Linked DNA regions of Homo sapiens: all the other regions are linked to region 4. Evidence: promoter capture Hi-C in 16 types of primary human blood cells and fetal thymus (Javierre and others, 2016). All regions are on one chromosome and are shown on one strand. The core of a region is centred on a gene start or on the middle of the fragment in contact, and the rest is flanking DNA. Distances in the headings are between cores, read along the strand shown.

What was found. The method cuts DNA at HindIII sites, captures the fragments that hold promoters and counts their contacts. A CHiCAGO score of 5 or more calls a contact.
Region 1: a fragment that was not itself captured here is called in contact with the fragment with the promoter of SLC6A5 in region 4 in 3 of 17 cell types (fetal thymus, erythroblasts and endothelial precursors); the score reaches 6.7 in fetal thymus.
Region 2: a fragment that was not itself captured here is called in contact with the fragment with the promoter of SLC6A5 in region 4 in 1 of 17 cell types (naive CD4 T cells); the score reaches 6.5 in naive CD4 T cells.
Region 3: a fragment that was not itself captured here is called in contact with the fragment with the promoter of SLC6A5 in region 4 in 4 of 17 cell types (fetal thymus, total CD4 T cells, erythroblasts and 1 more); the score reaches 7.2 in fetal thymus.

Annotation. Positions count from the first base shown.
Region 1 is chr11:20,151,729-20,157,771 of GRCh38, forward strand. It overlaps DBX1 (developing brain homeobox 1), which reads right to left. Exons shown (of 4, transcript NM_001029865.4): 3 at 5,309-5,511; 4 at 4,427-4,845. The coding sequence ends at 4,486. Among named protein-coding and RNA genes, the nearest start is that of DBX1, 5.7 kb to the right of the region's middle. RefSeq lists an enhancer at 4,542-5,741. The HindIII fragment of the contact is 850 bases long and covers 2,886-3,735 here.
Region 2 is chr11:20,113,539-20,119,739 of GRCh38, forward strand. It overlaps NAV2 (neuron navigator 2), which reads left to right. Exons shown (of 38, transcript NM_145117.5): 37 at 1,054-1,257; 38 at 4,595-6,201. The coding sequence ends at 4,720. It overlaps LOC107984418 (a long non-coding RNA gene), which reads right to left. Exons shown (of 3, transcript XR_001748477.2): 3 at 3,652-4,234. Among named protein-coding and RNA genes, the nearest start is that of DBX1, 44 kb to the right of the region's middle. RefSeq lists enhancers at 639-1,140, 1,141-1,640. The HindIII fragment of the contact is 813 bases long and covers 1,762-2,574 here.
Region 3 is chr11:20,132,534-20,138,278 of GRCh38, forward strand. No RefSeq gene overlaps it. Among named protein-coding and RNA genes, the nearest start is that of DBX1, 25 kb to the right of the region's middle. The HindIII fragment of the contact is 6,232 bases long and covers 1,059-5,745 here.
Region 4 is chr11:20,597,984-20,604,161 of GRCh38, forward strand. It overlaps SLC6A5 (solute carrier family 6 member 5), which reads left to right and starts at 1,625. Exons shown (of 16, transcript NM_004211.5): 1 at 1,625-1,692; 2 at 3,146-3,682. The coding sequence starts at 1,690. The HindIII fragment of the contact is 1,386 bases long and covers 907-2,292 here.

The DNA.
Region 1 (6,043 bases), core at 2,061-4,560, 440 kb before region 4:
AGAAGGGTTACTGTGAGGTTAAAACTCATGTAAATTTTGCTACAGTGTGTTTTGTGGACCAACCACATTAGCAAAGCGGATACCCAGAGCTCTGAATCATGATCTGCATTTCAGTGAGACCCTCAAGCAGTCCTTATGCACAGAGTAGTGCTGGTGTAAGGCACCCAGGAGACTGACTGCCTGTCACATTGTAGGCGCTCAATAAATATCTCCTTTTTTTTTCTTTTACTATTTATTTCTTATTCTTTAGCTTATACATGTAACTATTTCAGTCTTTTTGGACTAAAGTTATTGGTTTGATTTTTAAAAATACATCTGACCTGTTAATTTACTCCCTTTTTCTTATCAGCCAAAGTAATCTTTACATTCATTTGTAAAGTTTAAAACTTCCAGGCCTGCAGTCTAGATTCTAGAGTGTCTCTTTTCTCCTTTTTCATTAAAAAAAAAAAAAATTTAGGCCGGGCGCAGTGGCTCACACCTGTAATCCCAGCACTTTGGGAGGCGGAGGCAGGGGGATCACGAGGTCAGGAGATCCAGACCATCCTGGCTAACACGGTGAAACCTCATCTGTACTAAAAATACAAAAAAAAATTAGCCAGGCCTAGTGGCAGGCGCCTGTAGTCCCAGCTACTCGGGAGGCTGAGGCAGGAGACTGGCGTGAACCCAGAAGGTGGAGCTTGCAGTGAGCCGAGATCGCGCCACTGCATTCCAGCCTGGGTAACAGAGCAAGACTCCATCTCAAAAAAAAAAATAAAAAATAAAAATAAAAATAAAATAAAAAAAAAAATAATAAAAAATTTAAAGCAGCCACCCTGACAATGAGCCCCATGTGGTTGCTGTGTGTGGAGACCCACTGCCTGTATAACTAGAAGATCTGTCCCTCCTTTTATAATAATTCATTTATTCACTCAACACATATCAAATAACCAATATATGTATGGGATTGTGAATGACATTAGGGGAACAGTGTGAAATGAACATGATCCTCACCCTTGTGATGAAAGAAACACTAAAGGAATGAACCAAAATACAGCATTTGTAGTTCTCAGTAACACTTTGTGAATATGTAAATAATATATGCTTTTTAAAAAAAATCTCGAGTATTGACTGGGTGCAGTGGCTCATGCCTGAATCCCAGCACTTTGAGAGGCCGAGGCAGGCAGATCACCTTAGGTCAGGAGTTCGAGACCAACCTGGCCAATATGGTGAAACTCCGTCTCTACTAAAAACACAAAAATTAGCCGGGCATATGGCATGGGCCTGTAGTCCTAGCTACTTGGGAGGCCGAGGCAGGAGAATCGCTTGAACCTGGGAGGCAGAGGTTGCAGTGAGCCGAGATCATACCACTGCATTCCAGCCTGGGAAACAGAGTAGACGCCATCTCAAAAACAAAAACAAATAAACAGTCAAAATACAAACAAACAAAAACACAAAAAACAAACAAAAAAACTCAAGTTTTTTCCTTTTCTACATTTTATTGATTTTAAAAAGCACTTGATGTATATCTTAAGTGCTTTGACTTCTACATTGTCTTATTGCTTATTTCACATTTTTCACTTGCCTGCCATAACTTTGATGGTTGCTAGATTTTTAATCCTTCTAGCATGTGAGTTATTTTTCCAATAAAACAAATTTTTAATTTAGCATTGTGGTAAAAAAATGCACATAAAATATACTACCTTAATCATTTTTAAGTGTACAGTTGAGTAGTGCTAACTATATTCATATTGTTGTGCAACAAATCTCTAGAACTCTTTCATCTTGTAAGACTGAAACTCTATATTCATCGAACAACAAACAACTTTGTGTTTCCTCCTCCTCCAGCCCCTGGAACCACAATTCTACTGTTTCTCTGAGTTTGACTACTTTAGATATCTCATACAAGTGGAATCATGTACAATTTGTCTTTTTGTAACTGGTTTATTTCGCTTCATGTAATGTCTTCAAGGTTCACCCACGTTGTAGCATGTGACAGGGTGTCTTTTTTAAGGCCGAATAATATTCCATCGTATGTATATATCACATTTTATTTATCCATTCATCCATCCATTCGTGGACCTTTGGGTTGTTTCCACCTCCTGGCTATTGTGAATAATACTGCAATGAACACGGTTATGCCTTCAGAGTGCTTTGACTCCAGATGTAGACACTAATGTGCACCTGTGCCTGAATGTGATTCTTGACTATAAGAAAGAATTTTTGAGCTGGCAGAAAGGGAAAGGTAGGCCAGGTCAGGCTTCCAGTCAGGCTCCCATGTTGGACATCCAGGCAACAGCAGAGAGATAGAAAACAGCCTGAATCCTTCAGAGTCCTGTCTGAAAGGAAAGCAAGAACTTGGGTTGAATGCTGACCATGCTGAACACTTTTGTGTCTGTTGATTGGGACATGTGGGAGGTTTTTTGAATTTTATGATTATGAAAATGAGGACAATTATTTTCTTCAACTTCATAACATCATATATAACAATAATGAAAAGTGATCACCAACATCAGGAACAAGCCCAGCAGGGGATCTTAGCATGGAGGTGGTTTGTGTTATTTGAAAACAGGGTTAATATAAAATAGAATATATTCAATTTCAAATATAATACAAACTACCATGAGTTTGGATTAGGATTGCAAAGAAACATGGGTGCGTGTAGCTGATGGGGCAGAGACCAAACTCTCAAAGGGCACAAAAGCCCCTGCCAGGATCTAACCAGATGTTCTTTACTCCCTAGCTTGCTGGTTAAAGAAATCATTCCTGCTGAAAGCTAGTCTTTAAAGAACTTTTGTTTCATATGCAGATCCCAGAGTCAGTATCTGGGCTCCCATGTCAGGCCTGTAGATGGCATTCCTGATAAAATTAGGTCATACACAGAAGGAATGAGTCAAGACCAGTTCTGAAGCTTCCCTGGGGACCAGGAAAAATGCCTTCAAGGAGGAAAAGAAAAACCATTACAAACTTGAGCCACTTTGACTTGCATGGATTTCTCTTATCCCATCATTTCAGTCCTCAGAGAAGGGCAGGCGGCTTATTGCAGATTCAACTTTTGGTATCACTCTGGAGCTCCTTTACTTGTAACATAGCAAATACGGTTACTTTAAGGTACAGGAAAGCAGAAAAGGCACTGGCCTGAGAGTCAGATGGTTTCTAGTTCCAGCCTGGCTACTTACTAGCTGGGTGGCTTTGGATAAGTGCCTGCACCTCTTGATCCTCAGCTTACCTACTGTAAAACCCAGTCCCAGGGCTAGAACAGCTCCATTTCTTTCAGCTCTACCATTCTGTGAATTAATGACATCAGTTGACCATTGATTGCATCCATTCTACTTTTATTTGGCATTTGTTCATTTGATACATATATACATATATAAAAATCTGTACATGATAAAAATACAAAATAAGTATTTCTTCATAAGTTATGCAATTAAACAGCTACCTTTTTAAAGTTTAAAAGCCATTGCAAAACAAAAAAGTGAGAAATCTAGTCAGTCCTTTATAGTCATTCACAATAACCTTGGTATAAAATATCCATACAACCTGTGTGTACAAAATAGTGTACAGTTCATAAGAGCTGTGCAAAGACAGCAAAGTTCAGTTAAAAAAAAAAACAAAGAGACTGTACAGGTCTCTCTGTCCACATCATGCCCAGTTCCAGGAGGTCTGCAGCTCAGCAACACCTCCCTAGGAATAACAAAAGGGCACAAGGTAGAGTGTGTGGTGCGTATACCATGGATACAGACATTAAAAAGAAAAAGCTTTAAAACACACATACAAGAATAGGGACTGCTGCTTTTTTCCCCCTTTAGAGAACTCACTTCTTTCGCCAGAGAGCTTTTGGAAGGTGACAGAGAAGACTCAATATGTATGTTGTGCCTTGAATCAGAAGGCACTAATATATATATATATATTTCCTTTTTGAAAATCTTGAGCTTTCTAAGAGAACATCTATGGGAAGACAGAAGTGGGGTAGGGGGTGGAAATGAGAGACTGGAGTGAAATAGGAGCCCCTTGCTACCTATTAGGGGAGGTGAAGGGATCTAGAGGGTCAACGGTGCTGGAGTTAGTTATATGGTTTGGTGTTCTCACTCCCAACTCGGTTTCCTCCTCCATAAACAGGTTTCCTACCATATAGGGTGGTTACTGCTAACGACCAGCAGAGTGTGTCTCACAGTAAGGTCCAGGCCGTGGGACCACAGAACACCCCACTGTGTTTAAAATAGTTTGTAATAAACAAAATAGAATGGAGTCCTTGCTGAAAAGTTAAGGCTGGGACCAAGACTTAAAGTGAACTGATGTGGGGAGAACTATTTGGAGTTGGTTTTGTTGGGAAGGAAATGTCTCTTTGGGGCTACCGCAGGGCCGGTGGCGCCCTCAATGAGGTGATGGTTTCTACCGTCGGGAGAGGCAGCATCTGGGCACGGGGACAAAGTGAATGCGCAGACTGGACCCCACCTCTTCGATTTCAAAGCACTTAAAAATAGTACTCTGGCGTGCGAGCGGCTTCTAGGACACGGTGATTTCCTCCTGTTCCTCGCCCTCCTCTTCCTCCTCGGAATCTGAGAAGTCCGAAGGTTTCCCGGGACTGCTCGAGTGCGCGGGCGAGGGGGGCAGCGGCCCTGGCAGCCGCGGGTCCCGCAGGTGCTGGGGGTCGGAGGACGCGTGGTAGGCCAGGCGGTGGCTGGGGCTGCCCGGGCCCTCCTCCTCCTCTTCGTTCCCAGGGCCCTTCTGGCCCACGTCGCTGAGGTCCGGGTGCGGATTGAGCTTGGTGGGCAGGGTCTGCTCGCGACAGCCCCCGCTAGACAGGAGTTCGCGCTCCTTGGAGTTCCGCCATTTCATGCGTCGGTTCTGGAACCAGATTTTCACCTGGAATGTCCCGGCCGGCGAGAAGAAGGGAGAAGCAGAGGTCAGATCAGGGGCTCCGGGGGACGCACGGGGGCGGGGAGTGGAGTCGGGTGCAGGCTCTGTCCTTCGGGCTGTGTCCTCTCCCCACCCCCAGAAATGAGTTCCGGTGGATTCCCGCATTGACTCCGCCCCCGCCTCAGCTCGCGGTTCCGTTTGCCTCATCCGCTGCCACCCTGCCCCGAAGGGCGGGGTTGGGGGCCGGTGAGGCCGGGAGAGAAGGCGGGGAGTCGGGGTGGGGAGAGAAGAGGGCTATCCTGCGGAGCTTCGAGGGTAGTGGCCCGTGTACTCACTCCCTCTCTAGGCCTCGGTTTTCCCATCTGTACAGTGGGACCTAAGCCGTTTCCGAACCCTTGCAATTGACGGGTGCGCCGGGGAGGGGTGAAGGGCGGGGGCGGGGGGGGTGCTGTGGAGGAAATGCGCTCACCTGCGAGTCTTTCAGGCCCAGCTTGGCCGCCAGCTTCTTGCGGTCGGGCTTGCTGATGTACTTCTGCTTCTGGAACATCTTCTCCAGCGCCTTCCGCTGCACGTCGGAGAAGACTGCTCGACGCAGCATGCCCCGCCGAGGCTTCCCGCGCGCGGCCAGCGGCCAGGAGAAGGTCCCGGGGATGGGCACCACGCTGGAGGAAGCTGCAGGGTGGGGGGAGGTGGCGAGTGAGTGGGCGTACGCCCCCCAGTCCCAACACGGCTCTCCCTGGCTTTTTGCTCTGATCCCTTCATCTCTTTAAAACGCTCCTTTTTCTCCCCCTGGAGAATAGGCCACGAACCTACAAACCTGCGAGAGTGAAAGGCGCTTTCCGCCCAAACAACTTTCCCTTTCAACCGTGCAAACCCGGATTAGGTAAAACCACGGAAACAGAGAAAACAGCCCCCACAATAGCCTGTTTCGTTTTTCCATTCAGTGGACTTAGGGAAACAAACCTGCGTACATCAACTAAAACAGCAATAGAAAAAATAAATTACTAAAATAAAAATAAAATATCCAGCCGAGGCCACTGTGTTTCTCCCCTAAGCTTTTATCATTTCAGTGGCTTTTGCATTCTTTAGATGAAAATGAGGTGCTTTACTATTTTGATAAAGAGGGAAAAATCCGATTTAGATTTTTTGAAAAATCCAATAAGTATTCATCTTTTTTATATTAATCCTTCCTCCCCTCCCCCAC
Region 2 (6,201 bases), core at 918-3,417, 480 kb before region 4:
GTTTTAAGAGCCAATTAGCTATTATGGAATTTTGAGAAATACATGACAAGAGAGAAGCCCTCATAATTTCACTGCCTATGTGCAACCTCTGTTAGCAATTTGCTGTTTTGAAAAGGAGTAGCACTTCTATATAGGGGCTGTAAGAGTCAGACCCATTTCAAGAAACGGGGTTTTATTGAGCCAGGACCAGCCCAGCACAGTGGCTCACACCTATAATCCCAGACCTTTGGGAGACCAAGGCACGAGGATTGTTTGAGCCCAGAAGTTCAAGACCAGCCTGGGCAATATAGAGAGATCCCATCTCTTAAAAAAAAATGTTTTAAAAATTAGCCAGACATGGTGGCACACAAGTAGTCTCAGCTACTTGGGAGGCTGAGGCAGGAGCATCACTTGAGCCCGGGAGATTGAGGCCACAGGGAGCATGATCATGCCACTATACTCCAGCCTGAGCAACATTGCAAAACCTTGTCTCAATACAAAATCAAAGTAAATATTAAGCCAGGGCCATTGTGACCTCTGCCTGCAGTGTTGGTGCCCAGAACCCAAGGTATGTAGGCAGTATTCTTTGGGTAGATGCACCAAATGGAGTACTAGAGCTGGCTCTTGAAAGCTGATAGCACCTTTTTCCAACTCCACATCCAGTGACATCATGTCAGTGGTTTGAAGTCAGTCATGGTGGGATTGTACCATGGATGTTGGCAAATGCTTCAAATCAGGTCATTGTTTTTCCCCAAAAGCCAGTTTTTCAAATTGGATTATCAAGGCTCAGAGTTTAGGGTCACACGGTGAGTCAGTGGCAGAGCTGAGACATGAACCTAGATCAGCCTGACTCCAAAGCCTGTATTCTAGACCACTGGGTCATGCTGCCTTCAGCCTTAGCACCTCGAACTGTCTGCATCTTGGATGACTTCCTGAGCATGGAATAGAAGTGGAATTACTCCATCAGGGAAGGCATGATGCTGGATTTGGGGAGTTTTTCAGAAAGCTGCAAAACTGGGGCTACGAGAGAGATCTGGGCCACTTCCAGACTGTTCCTTCTTTGCCTGTTTTCAGCTCTATGGAAGGCGCGCCCCCTGGGAGGATCCTGCCAAGTGGGTGATGGACACATATCCATGGGCAGCCAGCCCACAACAGCACGAGTGGCCTCCCCTGCTGCAGTTACGGCCTGAGGATGTCGGCTTCGACGGCTACTCCATGCCTCGGGAGGGATCGACAAGCAAGCAGATGCCCCCCAGTGATGCTGAAGGTGACCCGCTGGTGAGTCCTCAGCCACCAGAGCAGCTCAGCATTCCTTTAGCACTTACTGTGTGTTGGGTATGATGCAGAGCCTCTGGAAATACAAAGGTGACTAAATCCAGCCTTGCTTTGGAAGGCTGGACCCAAATGACTGGGCCATTTTTGCCAATATTTTCTTCCATGGTTTTAGTTTTTCACTAAAAACTTCTCCTCTGAAATTTTTTTCTGGTATTAGATAACAGATTAAGAATTGATTTTTCCCCTTAAATGTTCTTATACCTACTGTCTCTATACAACACTTTGCCCTCTGATTTGGGATGCCACCTCTATTACCTACTATCCTATTACTTTGATCTCTCCTACCGATAGCAGAGCAGAGGAAGAGATTGCTAAGGACCAGAAGCCCAAGGCAAATGATAGGGTAAACAGGGAGAGGTCTGAGGGCAGGAGGGACTCACAGAGGGGAGGAGGCCTGAATATGAGTCCCATGGCCATTGAGATGAGCTAAGTCTTTCACACTGTTTAAGCTTCTTATTTATTCGGCTGTTGCTAAAACAATAAAGGCCCTTTAAGAAGCACCCAGGCTGGGGTGGCTCACACCTGTAATCCCAGCACTTTGAGAGGCCAAGGCGGGTGGATCGAGGTCAGGAGATCGAGACCATCCTGGCTAACATGGTGAAACACCGTCTCTACTAAAAATATAAAAATTTAGCTGGGCGTGGTGGCAGGCACCTGTAGTCCCAGCTACTCGGGAGGCTGAGGCAGGAGAATGGCGTGAACCCGGGAGGTGGAGCTTGCAGTGAGACGAGATCGCGCCACTGCACTCCAGCCTGGGCAACAGAGCAAGACTCCGTCTCAAAAAAAAAAAAAAAAAAAAAAAAGCACCCGGGCTGGGTGTGGTGGCTCATGCCTGTAGTCCCAGCACTTTTGGTGGGCAGTTACAGCCTGGGCAACGTAACAAAACCTCTTCTCTACAAAAAATACAAAAATTAACTGGGCATGGTGGCACATGCCTATAGTCCCAGCTACTCAGGAGGCTGAGGTGGGAGGAGGGCTTGAGCCTGGGAGGCAGAGTTTGCAGTGAGCCAAGATTGTGCCACTGCACTCCAGCCTGGTTGATAGAACCAAACCTTGTCTCAAACAAACAAAAGAAACACCCGGGCCAATAACAGTAGTATTTCTAATCGATTGTAGTACTCTACCAATATAAGACCCACACAGAGTCACACTGCTAAATTAGACCTAACAAATCAAAAGCCCAGTAAAATAAAAAGGAAGCAAATATACCAAAACCTCCCATGGTTAAAGGACTATTATCATGCCTTAAATTTAGCCCCAAGCTTTCTTGGCAGGCATAGCAAAAAGAAAACATAACAGAGAATATTATTTACATTACCTAATGAAAGAAAATATTATAAGAGATGTAGCAGGATTAAAAGACAACTGATTTACTGTTCTATTCCTAGCAGCTAATTAAGTCCCTAGATTAAAAAAATAATAATAATATTAATAGGCGATTCAGGTTGTCTGCCATCCTACTGTTTGGTGGGATGTAGCTGTGGTTCTGTTGAAGATTGCAGTGGGAACTGTATTTTTTAAGGATTTATTATTTGTGTTGCCATGTACAACCTAGTTTGCAATATTTATAACAGTAGTCTTACAAAGGAAAGAAGCATACTTTAAACAGCCGTTTGCAACGTTAACCATTGCTGAAAGCCAAAGTCACGGAGGTATTTTTTGCAGGGGCAAACTCATGAGGTCTTAACTTACATAGAAAATAGAATTTAGTATATTTAGAGGAAAGAATGGCCAGCCCATCCCTAAACAATCTTTTCTGAGCCAGTAACATTTGTATCACTGGTTGGACACAGAAGGTGTGTAGGTAAGACCCAGGATTCTTGGAAATGCAGAAACAGATTTCTCCTTCCAACCCCAGGCCCCCAGAAGTGAGCTGTGCCAGTCCAGCCACTTCCATTACCGAGTTAGATATTTGGTATTTCTCCTCAGTTCTGCTCTTTCTGCCCAGGGCCATATGTCTCTATTATCATAGCTCTCTTCTGTATTAATCCTTCTCACTCATGAGACTGAGACTTCCATGAAAACAGAATTTACTTGCTTTTGTTCCAGAACCATATACTGTGGACACACTGGGAGTGTTTAATGAGTGAATAAGTAATCCCAGTTGCCAAGGATTGTCCATTATACTTCAGCTCTGCCTCTTCCCTAGTTATGGCTGTGCAGATGGACACCAGATGATGGTGCTTCTGCAGCCTGGCGCATCTGGGTAGACTCTGCAAAGCATCCTGAGGGGCAGCTGGATTGTATGCCCAGCTGCACCACATCTTGGCCCTAGCTCAGAGAGGCCCCATATTCCTGACTTACTTCCTATATGAAATATAAAATACATACACACAATTTACAGTTATAAATAAAAGTAGTTTTTATTCCCTCTCCCACTCCCAAACAAGTGACCCGTAGTATGTAAACAAGGGCAGATTCAAGAACACTGTCGCTAAACTCTTTTAAGTTAGATGATGATGACAACAGATGACATTTATTAAGCGCTTACTATATGCCAGGCCAGCCCCTTTTCTAAGGGTTTAATACACATTATATCATTTTATTCCCTACTTCAACCCTATGAGAAGTGTTGCCATTCTCCCCATTCCACAGATGACGAACTGCTGGCTCAGATACCTTAGGTAACTTGCCCAGAGATTCCTGAATCATAAGCGAAGGCTCTTTGCACTCGGAGCCTTTGCTTGTAACTGGTGCTCCCCCTCACCTCCCTGCCAAGGCTTCCACAGGAGCTGCAGCACAGTTGGCTCCAGTCTGACCTGGCCAGAGCAAGGAGAAGAGATGGGTTTGATGCTTGTTGAAGTGGGAGGGGGTCCATGTGCTTCCGATGTCAGTGATGCTGATGCCAAGTTCCAGGAACAGGGATGCTCAGCCACACCTTCATCCAGGCCGAGGGCTAGGCCTGAAAGGTGTGCCCCTCCTAAATAAAAAATAAATAAGCTATGTATAGAGATCATCATTTTGTTTTCAGTGCTCTACGTATATTAACTCAATCCACCCATAACATTATAGGGCAGGTACTATTATTATTCACATTTGACCAGTAAAGAAACAAGTATAAAGAGGTTAAGTAATGTGTTCAAAGTCATGCAGCTAGTAATTGGTGAAGCTGGGATTTGAACCCTAGAAGCCTGGCCCAAAGTCCATGTTCTTGTCCACTGCCTCCACTGTGGGCTGTTATCCCAGGTGAGTCTGGAGGAGGTGGCATGACCTTTTAGGAGTCCAGGGTGGGCGGCCAACTAGACAGAAAGCAGCTCATGCTTCTCCACTCTTCCCCTAGATGAACATGCTGATGAGGCTGCAGGAGGCAGCCAACTACTCCAGCCCCCAGAGCTATGACAGCGACTCCAACAGCAACAGCCATCACGATGACATCTTGGACTCCTCTTTGGAGTCCACTCTGTGACAGGGGCCCGGAGCCCAGCGCCCTCCTCTTCTCCTCACCGCATTCCACCTGCATCCCCCACATCACCCTGAAGATGACTTCCTGAGCCAGCCCCCAGCCACAGCCTTAGAGCTGCGGGAACACCGAGACCCCCCGTCCTTCAGCCTCGACCTGGGTGCAGGCATCCCGGGCCAGCTGCCTGCGGACCGCTTCCTTCCACAGCGAGAACTGCACTACCTTCTGTTGTACTTTAATTATTGTTTTGCCTTGTTGCTGTGACCTCCCTAAGACACTGAAGATACTTCTCGGGAAAGGATCATCGCCGTTGAAATGAAAAGAGAGACAGAGAGAAAAAAAAAAAGAGAACCCACATGAAGCTCTGAAACCAAACAGCATCCTGCCATGAGCTTCCCAGAGACAGAAGAGACTGGAGCAAAGTCGGAAACACAGAGAAGCACGGCTTCCCCTCAGCACAGACCCTCCAGACTGGGTCTCAGAGCCGTGCCACCCACCCTCCCACACAGCCGGCCACAGGGAGAACTGGTGCTAACCAGGGTGCTTGCTTTGGTCACGTTCAACGCACTACAGAGCTACGACACAGGGAAACCTTAGGAGCAAATAAACCGTGCTTTCATGTTTTTTAAATGGTGCTTTCCTTACCCGAGAGGTATTTTGCCTGTTCCAATCAAACCACCCCATTCAGGTCCATCAGCCTCTGATTAATATCCGTGAGAGTGAGTGACGGAGTGAGAGTGTGAGCGAGTGGATGTGGCTGTCAGTGCAGAACAGCATGTGTCTCTTTCCTTCTGATATATGAATGAATCAGGTTTTTTTTTTTTTTTTTCTGCAAACACTGTGTATAGTGAGACTTGTTCTACTTTGGAGAACAGGTTACCTTTTGAAAATGAGGTTGAGTTTCTTCCTTTCTGATGCATTGATTTTTGAAGATTTTTTTTTCCCCCTTCCCCTCTTGGTCAGAATCAATCCTTTGGTGAAAGTAAGAACCGCAGGAGTTGAGTTTTGGTTTGGTCCTGCTCAGTTTTGGTTTTTAGTTGTCCATCCTCACAGTCCTACACACTCGCCTCCTCCTGCTAGGGCTGGGGGTATCTGTGTCCTTTAAAATGGATGAGGACCTGGTCCTCGACATGTGGGTGAGCCATGGACCTTGCCTTCCCTTCTCGTCCTTGAGGGTTTAGAACACACACCAACACCTCCAGCGTCCCCGCCCCAGCTTCCGGTGGGGTGATGCGGTCACCCTGCAAAAGACTTGCACTTTCCTCAGAACCAACATGACGCAGCTCAATAAGGGTGAGGGTCACTCCCTCCCAGAAGCCCCGTCTGGACGAGCCTTGCCTGACCTCTTCGGTGCTGACCTTCCCAAAGTGATGCCTTACTGGTTTTGTACTAACTGTGTTCATTTTACATAAGTGTCGTGCCTGCCTGGGGTTTGTTTTTTTTGTCATTGTTTTCCCCATTGAAACAAACAGGGCTAAAAAGTCATC
Region 3 (5,745 bases), core at 2,925-5,424, 460 kb before region 4:
CCTCCCCTGTTTGGGACAGGCCGTGCTCCCACCTTTTATTGGAGACGAGGCGAACCTGGGCTTAGGGCGCCACCTAGAGCCAAAAAAGAGGAAGCGACCTGGCCGCGAAGCTTCGCTAGGCAAGGATGTCCCACAGAAACCCAAACAAGCCAGACAGAGAAAACTGGAATAAATAATCCTTCATTGCAAAGACACAGGCGTATACCCACAAAAACACCAGCAAGCAGGAGACCATGACCTACGCAAAAGGACAAAGCAAAAATCCAGTGACTGGGCCTAACGACATGGCGATTGGTGAGCTCCCTGACCAAGAATTCAAAATAGCAGTTTTAAGGAAACTCAGTGATCTCCGAGATAGCACACAAGCGCATTTCAGAAACTTATCAAAGTTAACAAAATATTAAAGTAATTTTAAAAATCAAGCAAATCTTGAAACTGAGAAGTTCATTTGCTGAATCGCTGAAGTTCATTTGCTGATGAACTCGATAGACTCTCAACAGCAGAGGGAACCAAACAGAGGAAAGTATCAGTGAGCTTGAAGACTGGCTATTTGAAAATACAGCCAGAGGGAAAAAAAGGAAAAAAATAACTGAAAGGAATGAAGACCGCCAACAAGATCTACAAAAGTAACTCAAAACACCAAATCTAAGATCTACAAAAGTAATTCAAAAGACCAAATCTAGGAATTGTTGGTGTTCAAGAGGGAGCTGAGGCCGAGCATGTGGCTCATGCCTGCAATCCCAGCACTTTGGGAGGCAGAGGTGGGAGGACTGCTTGAGGCCAGGAGTTCGAGACCAGCCTGGACAACATAGTGAGACCTCGTCTCTACTAAAAATTAAAAAAATATTAGCTGGGCACAATGATGTGCACCTGTAGTCCCAGCTACTCAGGAGGCTGAGGCTAGAAGACCGCTTGAGCCTGAGAGATGAAGGTTGCAGTGAGCCGTGATCATGCCACTGCACTCCAGCATGCATGACAGAGTGAGACCCTGTCTCAAAAAAAAAAAAAAAAAAAAAAAAACCAAAACAGTGGGAGCTGAGCAAGAGCAAGGGGTAGAAAGCTTATTCGAAGAACTAATAACATAGTAATACCCAACCTGTGCAACACTCCTTTCCTGTGCCAGGCACTGTGCTAAGCAATTAACGTGTACTATCTCATTTAATCCTCTCAGCGACTCTATGGCGACAGTATTATTAATGGTGCTTCATGAAAGGAAAAACTCAAGGAAATATCTCTTCTTCCTATAGCGTGAGAGCCAGCTAAGGAGTGCAAGCCCCCCCCTCCCCAACCATGGGGTGAGAAGTGTCCCCTCTGTTCTCCCAGCAGTCCTGTGCTTCCCTGTTACAGAGTGCCCCCCAGTCTGCTGTGATGGCTGTGGCCCTGCATCTCTTCCACATGAAATGAGAGCTGGAGGCATGGCTCACTCCATGATACAGATCTAGTCCCTAGAACAGAACTAGGCTCCTATGGGGAAATGCAATAAGGACAGCGAACAAAGAAAGGGAGAGGTAGAAGGAAGCTCAGAAGTTTAAAGGACTCAGTCTGGCAGAAAAAGAAAGAGGGGTTGAGGAGGGAGTGAGATGAAGGGAAGTTGAGTGCAAGGAAGTTCAGAGGGGGAACTCTACAGAATGCACATGGAAAATAAAGTTAATCAGCAAGGATGGAAAGATATCTTAAACGTCAACATCAACAGAAAAAAGACCTAACTGTATATCAAATTGAACTTTAATAATTTAGTGGAATATAATTTTAATGGAATATAATCTTGTGCTTTGCTTTGTAGATGTGTTGATGGTCGTGGTATTGATGTAGTAATTCCAGCACTATTTGTGACTAAGGAATGTTAAAGCAAATATATTGTTTGGGGGAATAATAATTCTCATTCACTAAGAGAGAAGGGAGAAAACATATGGAATGAGAACAAAGGAAGAACACCACATTGCTGTATTAAATTAAAGATTACTAGTAAGACCTCCCTCTTGCTCCAGAAAGATAGATAGAGAGATGATAGCTATAAATCTGTTCCCTGAAAGAGCATAGAAGCAATGATATTATAGTACAAATGATCGCAGCCACCACACCATGAGTTCTAAATGCCATTCTCTAATTTTAAAAACCTGAACTTCTTAGAGAAGTGGCTGATTCCAGGTATTTGACAGAAAAATTACAAGGCAAGGCTGAACATCTTGTATCAGAAAACATGGAGGTGCTAAAAACAAACAAACAAAAACAGTGGAGAACACCGGATCCAGCTTCAAGGGGCATCCCTGGCCAGATCTGAAAGACCTGAGCATCAACAAGAGCAACGGTGGCTACGTATCATAAGATAATTGAATAAAACAAAAACCCGTGAGTCATTGTGACAAGTAAAGGCTAAAGGTGCTACCATGCCAAACCATACTGCTCAGCTACAGGCCACTTTCTTTTGCCAGGCAGGCATGAAGAGGACCATTTGAAAAGAGTTGGCGAGATGAAGGAAAGGCACGGTACAGGCCTGCATAATATTACAGAGATTTCATTATGAGAGAGGAGGTATTACCAAATGAGAACATATTTCTCTTCCTTATTATGGGTTAGACAAGGGCTTAAAAACTGGTGGCTTAATGTCCTGCTATGACTCACAGATATTTTTACTCACAAACTTCTTTAATTGGGAAATTGCACTTAAATTCCAGATTTCTGGATTGTCTTAAAATCCAGGCAATCTAGTCTTCATTCCAACCTGAAAACAGTCAGCTAACATGAGCAGAAATTGTCCTATTCAGTAGGGCCTGCATCCTTGGGCTCATCAGAGCTTCCAGTAGTACAGGCTCCCTTCACTGATTGTTGTCACCTGTCTGGCCCCTGGAGACATTATCCTTTATGACCACTAGTTTGTTTATGTTTCTGACTTGTGAGCTATAAAACTGGAATGACCACTAGTTTAAACTTCACTGCCTCTGAGAATTAGTGTCTGTCATTAGGATAGAGGCGTGTGTGTGTGTGTGTGGTGTGTGTGTGTGTGTGTGTGTGTGTATGTGTGTGCTTGATGAAATTTGATTCAACATCTGCTAACAAGACAGTTGGGAGAATGAAGAGATGAACTCCCACTTGTGAAGACTAGATTTGGAAGCACTCTTCCTGGACTTCACTGAAGAATTTAGGACATTAGGCCAGGTGCGGTGGTTCACGCCTATAATCCCAGCACTTTGAGAGGCCAAGGCAGGTGGATCACTTGAGATCAGGAGTTTAAGACCAGCCTGGCCAACATGATGAAAACCCGTCTCTACCAAAAATACAAAAATTAGCCAAGTGTGGTGGCACACACCTGTAATCCCAGCTACACAGGAGGCTGAGGCAGGAAAATAGCTTGAACCCAGGAGGCAGAAGTTGCTGCGAGCCGAGATCACACCACTGCACTCCAACCTGGGTGATAGAGCGAGACTCTATCTGAAAAAAACAAAGAATTTGGGACATCAAAAGTCTCCCTGGACTCGGAGCACCCAGCCACCTCACTTGTCATGTGGACACCTCTTCTTTACCTTCCATTCCATGTGAGCTTGGGTGGGGGTAATAATTGAAACAGGAGGGGAAGGAGATACAACTGGAAGTAGAATGTTCCCTAGGGGAAAGGGGTCAAGTTTTCCAAAAAGTTGATGGAAGGCTTCAAGCCAGTTAATGCCTTAAGAAGGCTCTTTTGAAAGGGGGCCAAATGATGGGATGGGTTTGAGGAGCAAAATTGGCTAATTGCTTAAAGAATTTATCTTAGATGTCTCGGAAGAGGCATCTGGTGGTTGTTTACACAACAGCCACCCTACCCTTCTGAGTAAGAGTACCCCAGGTTTGTTCAAGCATCAGTGTGCCCAGCGACAGAGAATAAACCATGATTGGTCTGATTATGGTAGCTCCATTGCTTGTGATTGGCCTATACATGGCAAGAATCCAGTTGTGTCCAGTGAGAGACATAAGGAGGATTCTGGGAAGGACTTTCCTCCAAAATAAAAGAGATTCATGCAAGAAGTTCCCTTTGCCATTGTCCCTTTTGCTTCCCATTTTGGATGCTGTCATATGAAGAAGTGATGGTTGGAGCTGCAGCAGCCACCTTGCCACCATAAAGCAACCAGCTCCAAAGCCAAAATGTCAAGGAAGTTTGAGTAGGAGAATAACAGAACAAGGCAGTATGAGAAACATGACCTGGTCCATTTTCACTCCTCCACTGATGCCTATACAGAGATGGCAGTATCCTACCGAGAAATGGGGTCCCAGATCCCAGAGTGGTCATGAGCAAAGAAGTTAGGGCAGCTGGAAGTGGTAGGAGAACTATTGTGGCTCCAAGGAATATTGGCAAGCAGAAAACTTGGAAAGAATGTAAAAAGAAAACCTTTCTTTTCCCAGTGGGAACTGACCTTGAAAGGTGGTAGGGACTGATTATGAGAGTTTGTAAGAAAGCACAAAATAAATCTCTACAGTATTGAGCATGGAATGGTCTACCTGCAGAACATGATAAGCTGTGCCACAGAACCTGAGGTGCAGGCATGATCCCCTGATGAAGACACGATGCCACTAACTATGGGCCTTCGCATCCTATGTGAGCTACTTGGTGACAGGTTGGTCTATGTTAGTTTCTCCTCCTATTTCAAGATAAGGCCGGGTGTGGTGGCTCATGCCTGTAATCCCAGCACTTTGGGAGGCCGAGGTGGGTGGATCACCTGAGGTCAGGTGTTCAAGACCAGCCTGGCCAACATGGTGAAACCTCATCTCTACTAGAAATACAAAAATTAGCTGGGCATGGTGGCAGAAACCTGTAATTCCAGCTACTCGGGAGGCTGAGGCAGGAGAATCACTTGAACCAGGAAGGCAGAGCTTGCAGTGAGCCAAGATTGCACCACTGCACTCCAGCCTGGGTGACAGAGCAAGACTCTGTCTCAAAAAAAATAAAAAAATAAAAAATAAGAAAAATAAATGTGGGAGCTTCTTCAATGCTAATTGATGGATCAAAATATGGTCATGGAGTGCCAATTAAACAATATCATCTATTTTTCTCCCTGTCTTGGACCACTACCAATATGCTGCTATTTTATTTATGGAGACACTGAGGTCTAAAAAATTAAATAACTCGGCCAAGGCATACACAGCAGTGAATGACAGAGCTAAGATGTGAACTAAGACATTTCTGTCTTCTTTACTCACATAACAACTGCCTCTTTGACAATGTCTTTCAACTTACAAGTTAGTCCAAAATCAAAGAAGTTTGGATCCAACTGGCTCCTGCTGCTCTTCTCAGTCAGGTCACAAGTATCTTTGTCACAGAAGTATTAATAGGCAGTGTTTTAACTGACTTCAGTAACATGACTTGAACATAGTGGATTCTCAATGAATGACTTGTGGGTGTAACTCAGGCTAAATTGCAAAAAATTGAGGCACAATAGAAGGACAGAGTAGGGATTTTTTTTTTTTCTCCAAGTCATGCCCTTCCTTTTGTAATTCAATCATTTCCTGAATACCTACTAAGTGCCATCTACCATAAAGCAGCTCACTGTTAGACGTGGCACACATTAGGAAGTGCAGAGCCTCTGGAGCAAGACTGCTTAGGTCTGAAGCTCTGCTTGCCAGTTGCCAGTTGTGTGACCTCCAGCAAGCAAACTCCTTCACACTTTGTGCCTCTGTTTCACTGTCAGTATAAATAAATATATTAAATAGAACCTACCCTGTAGGGTTCTTATGAGGAATAACTTGGAAAGTAAATACATGTAGTTTGTGTAGACT
Region 4 (6,178 bases), core at 375-2,874:
GCTAAATCTAACCGAGATAATTCATGGATATCCCTTGCACAATGGTTGAGTATTGAGATCTCAATAGACGTTAGCTCAAAACTGCAATAAAAAGCGACCTGAAATCCTCAAGGCGTCTCAAAAGAAAGATCTCCTCCTCCTGCCCCCACCAAAGGCAATGCAGACCGTGTGTCCCCAGCCAGCTGCCCTTTAGAGGGGCTAGGCGGGAAAGCCAACCAGCGGAGGCATCCAAACACTCTCGGGCTCTCCAGAGGAGCAGGAGGGTGCCCCTTAGTGCCCCCGGCGCCCGCCGCAATCTGCCACTGCAGCCTACGCCTGCGGCCGCGGCCGCCGCGGCATTGTCCTCCCGCCGCGTGGGACGGCCCAGCCGCTGGCGACGGCGCGCACCCCGAGGCAGTGGGCTGGGCTGTTGGCAGTAGGGAAGGGAAAACGTGCTGTCTGTGGCTCCTCATCCCCGAGGCCAGGGGTTCCCCGAGCTAGACCGGCAAGGAAGGAGAGAAGGGAAGCATTTTGCTGATAATCCCCTTCTAGTCTCCAAACTACACCTTCTTTGTAAAGGCGTTTTTTCCTCTTCTGATTATAGCTATTGCATTGTACACACAACAAGAAAGTCCATCTTTTTATCGCCATGGCCACCCCCACTCCCATCCCCGCCACAGTACGGTTGAACATCCTGGCATGGCTTTGCAGATTGCCAGCTCTCATTCCCCCTCCCCCGCATTGCTGGGCATCCCGATTTGGACGGTCTCTAAGGTCCCGCGCTGCCAAATCAGGCCTGGCTCTTGTAGGATTTTATTGAAAGGACTGTAAAGAAAGAATGGGTTTCCCTTGACTTTGAAAGTGACCTAAGAACTAGGTCTGTGTTGGAAAAACTTCGTTTTTCTTTCTCTAAAACGTCTTCAGAAAAGCTTAAAAATACAATGAAAAAGGTCAGTTATACTCAGAATTTTCTCTTGATTGTGATAACAGAAATAGGAACGGAAATACCAGATCACAATTTTTAAGCAAAAACCCCAGGATTCCTCCAAGACTGACTGTCTGGAAGGGTAGGGATGTGAGAATCTGAAGTCCACATACATGCTAGGTAGGTACACCTTGATAAATGCAGGACCCATGCCTGCTTCAGTCATCGCAGAGCTGTGGGGCTATGCGCAGACCCTCAACCTCTTTCGGAGTAATATTTTCGGAATCCCTGAAGATAAGGGGGGACAGCAATGGAATCTAGTGAAAGGGAAAGAATAGACAGTGATTTAACCCCCTCCTTCCTCCTCTACAGCCCGATCCACTCTGTTGGCGGCTGCGCCTTGCCTTGGGTGCAGTGGGACGTGTCCCTCCCATGTTTCCCTTAATTAGGAGGAGGCAAACTTCTGTCTTCCCCTCCTGCCGGTTTCGGTTTAGTAATCAGACCACATGAGTCACGCCAAACACGCAGCCCCCTCCCGCTGGAGTGACAACTGGCCAGCATACTCTAGGCTGTTGTCCCTTTAAAACTTGAATCCAAGGGGGTAATGATTTATCAAACTTGTATTATCAAGAAAATGTCAAACCAAGGGCACCTTGCTTTGCACTGACGCAAACCCGGCCTTTCCCAAGGAGATATAGAAAGCGCCTCTCCTGCCTGAGCCAAACCCAGTCTTGTCAATAGCGGGTTTCACCCTCCACCAGTTCAGTCTGTTGCCTGTGTCAGACATGGTGAGTGTTTGCTTTTGTTCTTTCAAGAGGAAAGGGGGCTGAGGGGACAGGGAAAGCAGATTCGTTTTGGCTATTTCTTTTGGAGATGTCTGTGCATTGGGTGGGGGGAAAGGGGGCGACGAGGAGAACAATTCTCGCAGCCCTAGGTATTTGTACTTGTGAGCGTCACCTGAGGTCGCAAAGAGGTTTCCTAGGCTGTAGAGCTGAGAGGTTGGCTGTGGCTCCTAAAGACCCGATCCCGGGCACTGTCCTCGGTGCTGAAAAGCCAGATGCCGGTACAGAGGCGAGTTGCTCTGGGTCCTAGAGGCTACTGAGACAAATGCTGGCTGAAGCCGAGGTACCTAGATTTGTGCAAATCGAGGAGTTCTATTCTGCGTGTTTGTGAAAGGGGGTTAGACGAGAGGAGTGCGGTGGAGGCGAAGATAATAGGATTATTCTTACAGTGTAATAATAATTATTGGTGCTAATGTTTAGGAAGCCGTGAAAGATAACACGAGGGGAGAAAGTGGATAGAAAAACCACCGCTGGCAGTTCTTTTCATTTGAAAGTGAATTGGGAAAAAGCGAATAAAAATTAGTCATGAGTTTTGGTACTCAAGCAAGCTTAGAGTTGTGAAGGATATTAGACTCCTGTGAATAGTTACGCAAAAAAGAAGAAGAGGAAGAAGAAGAAGAAGAAGAAGAAGAAGAAGAAGAAGAAGAAGAAGAAGAAGAAGAAGAAGAAGAAGAAGAAGAAGACCTAAACAAAAGAACAAAAAGCTTTGCATATTCTTTTCCATGTCTGGGAATCTGGAAGTGAATACGAGTTGTGTAAGATAACAAATCTAGTTACTACTCTGTGTCTTAAATTTAGTTTATTATCGTTGTAGGTTTTTTTGTGGTTATTTTGATCGTGATTCTTAACCTTGTCTTTGCTACCTGGCGGGAGGAGGTGGGTTGTGGAGCGCTGGGACTCAACCAATTTGGCCTCAAGCGCTCGCAGGTGCCAGGGCATCAGCTTTGTGGCCACAGCTTGTCTATGGGGGAAAAAGGCAGTGTGCATTGTTGAATGACAAAGGAAATGGGGCGGAAAATTAAAGAATCTTTCTACAGTGGTGATGGGGATGCGGGCACCCACAGCTGTGATGTGGAATCCAAAGAGGGAGGGGAGCTCATGACTCCAGGGCTATTTCCATTCCCCCTTTACCCTTACAAAATTACATTTCTACCTCTTTTCTTAGTTCATCCTCCACTAGGGAGGGAATATTAGCTTCTTTTTGTCATCTGGTTATTGATGAAACGGGCAAATTGAGAAATACTGATTGCAGCCTTTCTTTTAAAAAAAGTTCAGATTCCAATTTGCTTCCCCAGATATTGTGTCTGGACCTGAGTTGCGAACGTCTCCATATCTAGATACAGGTATTTTAAAAGCTGTTGTGACTTTGTTTTGCACGAACTTGACATTGTGTTTGCAGGATTGCAGTGCTCCCAAGGAAATGAATAAACTGCCAGCCAACAGCCCGGAGGCGGCGGCGGCGCAGGGCCACCCGGATGGCCCATGCGCTCCCAGGACGAGCCCGGAGCAGGAGCTTCCCGCGGCTGCCGCCCCGCCGCCGCCACGTGTGCCCAGGTCCGCTTCCACCGGCGCCCAAACTTTCCAGTCAGCGGACGCGCGAGCCTGCGAGGCTGAGCGGCCAGGAGTGGGGTCTTGCAAACTCAGTAGCCCGCGGGCGCAGGCGGCCTCTGCAGCTCTGCGGGACTTGAGAGAGGCGCAAGGCGCGCAGGCCTCGCCCCCTCCCGGGAGCTCCGGGCCCGGCAACGCGCTGCACTGTAAGATCCCTTTTCTGCGAGGCCCGGAGGGGGATGCGAACGTGAGTGTGGGCAAGGGCACCCTGGAGCGGAACAATACCCCTGTTGTGGGCTGGGTGAACATGAGCCAGAGCACCGTGGTGCTGGCCACGGATGGAATCACGTCCGTGCTCCCGGGCAGCGTGGCCACCGTTGCCACCCAGGTAAGCAGGTTGCATTACGGCCCGCACAGTGTCCTGCTCTCCAGCTGCGCGAGAGAGGCCAGCCGGGCCGTGGCGGGTGCACGTATGCTGATGGGGAAACCGGTTGGCAGTGCCAGGTGATGGATGCGGGAGGCGGCTTTGGGGCTTCGGAAGCTCGCACTGCGCTGGGGTCGGCAGTTCAGGGCGCGAGGGCTGCAGTGACCCTGCCAGAGGGGCCACGACCTGCCCCTTCCCAGCCTTGGCGGTAGCGGGAATACAGGTCCAGATCCACGAAAGAGTTGAGGAAGATAGATTCCACCCTTTTATGCAGACAGACTCCCTCTCCTGCCAATGACTGTCTTTTCTTTTCAAAAATAATTTCTTAATTAAACAAAAAGAGGGTTAAAATTCAGAACAAAGCCACGTGGTGGTGGCTGGGGATGGAGGGGTAGGAGGATAATAGTTTAAGTTTTGTAGCCTTTACACTGCCAGTTACCTTTATTACATGAGAACTCATTTGATGCGAGGTGGGTTTACCTGAGGCTACTGAAGCTTTAGTTTTGGGGCCTGTCCTTTGCCTGGGTCCTTCCAAAACCTGGTGTCTACTTTTGCCATAATTTTCTATTTTTTTCCCTAAAGTAACCTCCCTCAATTGTATAAGCTTCAAGCCCCACCAATCTTAATCCCCTCTTGCATTTGATCCTTTACTACTTAATTAGAGGCGTGAAAAACCCACAGAGCAAATCCCAATCCTTGGGTTATGAATAAAGGCAGCTTTTGCTGGTGGCCCACTCTCTCATATAGGCTTTTGTTCTCTTCAATTTCCCTCTCGTCTCTCTCCTTCCTTCTCTGATCTCTTCTTTCTTCTGTCCTTTTTCATCAACTTCAGCTCTTCCCTTCTCACTGCCTGCCTTTCTGCTATTTCCTCTCCTTTCCTGGCCTCAGGGGCTATGCATATATCCAGCAGTGGGGCCTGGACCAAAATTTGTGCCTGTGTGAGGTTTAGGATTTATACAACCCTTCTATCCTTAGTCACTTTAGTGTTTGCACACACACACACACACATACACATTCACACTTATCCACAGGCCCACATAGCAGGAGCTTGTGGTGTCAGAACTAGAAATAAACATAGAATCTCCCACTTGCCTTTCCTTTCGGGGTCCACATCCGGAGTGTTTTTCTATGTATATTATCTGCCTCTGACAGCATGTATCCCACAGTGTGACCCCAGGTGGAGCAGAATATTTGTTTCACTTGTCTTGCTTAACCTCCGCACTGCGGCAGAAGGAGCTGGAACTCCCACCCTTTGCAGCCCTGGAAGGATTGAAGGGTGGGATTAGGAATGGAGGTGGTCTGTGTGTGGGAGGATTAGAGGGAGGATGTTAAAGATGTTTGGTTTCTGGAAGTACTTATTTTCAGCCCTGTCCATCTTTCTGATTGTGCCTTTCTGACACTCACCCTGGCCCTTTCTCTCTCCCTAAGACTTCTCCTGACAGCTGCTGCTGTGTCCTGCACACCCTGTAGAAAAGTATGAGACCTAGCAAGTTACTACAATAGGAGGTGAAGGGTGACTGAGAAGGTGGAAACTGTGTGTTGGCCTGAGTGCCTGGAAAGCTTTGTGCAGTGTCTAGGTGTCCTGAACATTTTCAGAGTTTATTTGGGGTGGTCTCCCCCCATTTTTCCTGCTTACTAGTGAGGCATTCCAGGACCAGGCACTGCCCCAAGAAAGCATCTTCGTGTGAGCTTGAAGAAATGAGCTTCAAAGATTCATAGACTGCTGGAGCTGGCAAGGGCTTCAGGGGACAGTCATTCTAAGCCTCTTTTACAGATGAGACACGGAGGTTCAGAGAGAGCAAGTGGCTTGCCTGGGGTTATCCAGCTGGTTAGTAGCAAAATTTAGACCAGAACTCAAGGTCGTAGATGGCTTGTCTCTTCCCATATCAACCTTTTTTGTTTGTTTGTTTTCCGTCTTGTTTCACCTTCAAATATCCCTCCTGCCCATCTCCCTTGCATTAGTCTTGAAGGATGCCTTCTTAAATTAGTTGACCAGGCAGGTTCTGGTTTGGTCAAGAAAGTAAGGCAGGGGCTCTGGCTGGCTTCGGCATTGCAGCTCTCTTTCTGGTCTTGGCACACACTCTAAAGGAAGAAATGGCTGAGGAGGAGGTGTGGTGAAGGTTTTTTTTTGTGGGAGAGGGTTAATTAGGAACCTGCTTGCTGGGAACTCCAGGCATGATGTTGGGGGAGCCTGCTTGCCAAATAAATTCTTGGTAAGGGGTTGGGGATGGAGGGACCTGCTTGCAATCACCTTACAGGTTCAAGGTTTGGGGAGAGCTGCTTGCTGGTGCGCCCTGACTGTATGATCTGGGAAAGAGGGGTTTTGGGTCTGTTTAAGATGGATCTTCAGATCAGAATTGAGGACCTGCTTGCTGATTGACTCTCAGTGCAGGGTTGAGGGGTGAGGTCCCTGCTTGTAGATGCATCCTTTCTTTAGATTTGGGGTCCTGCTTGCTGATG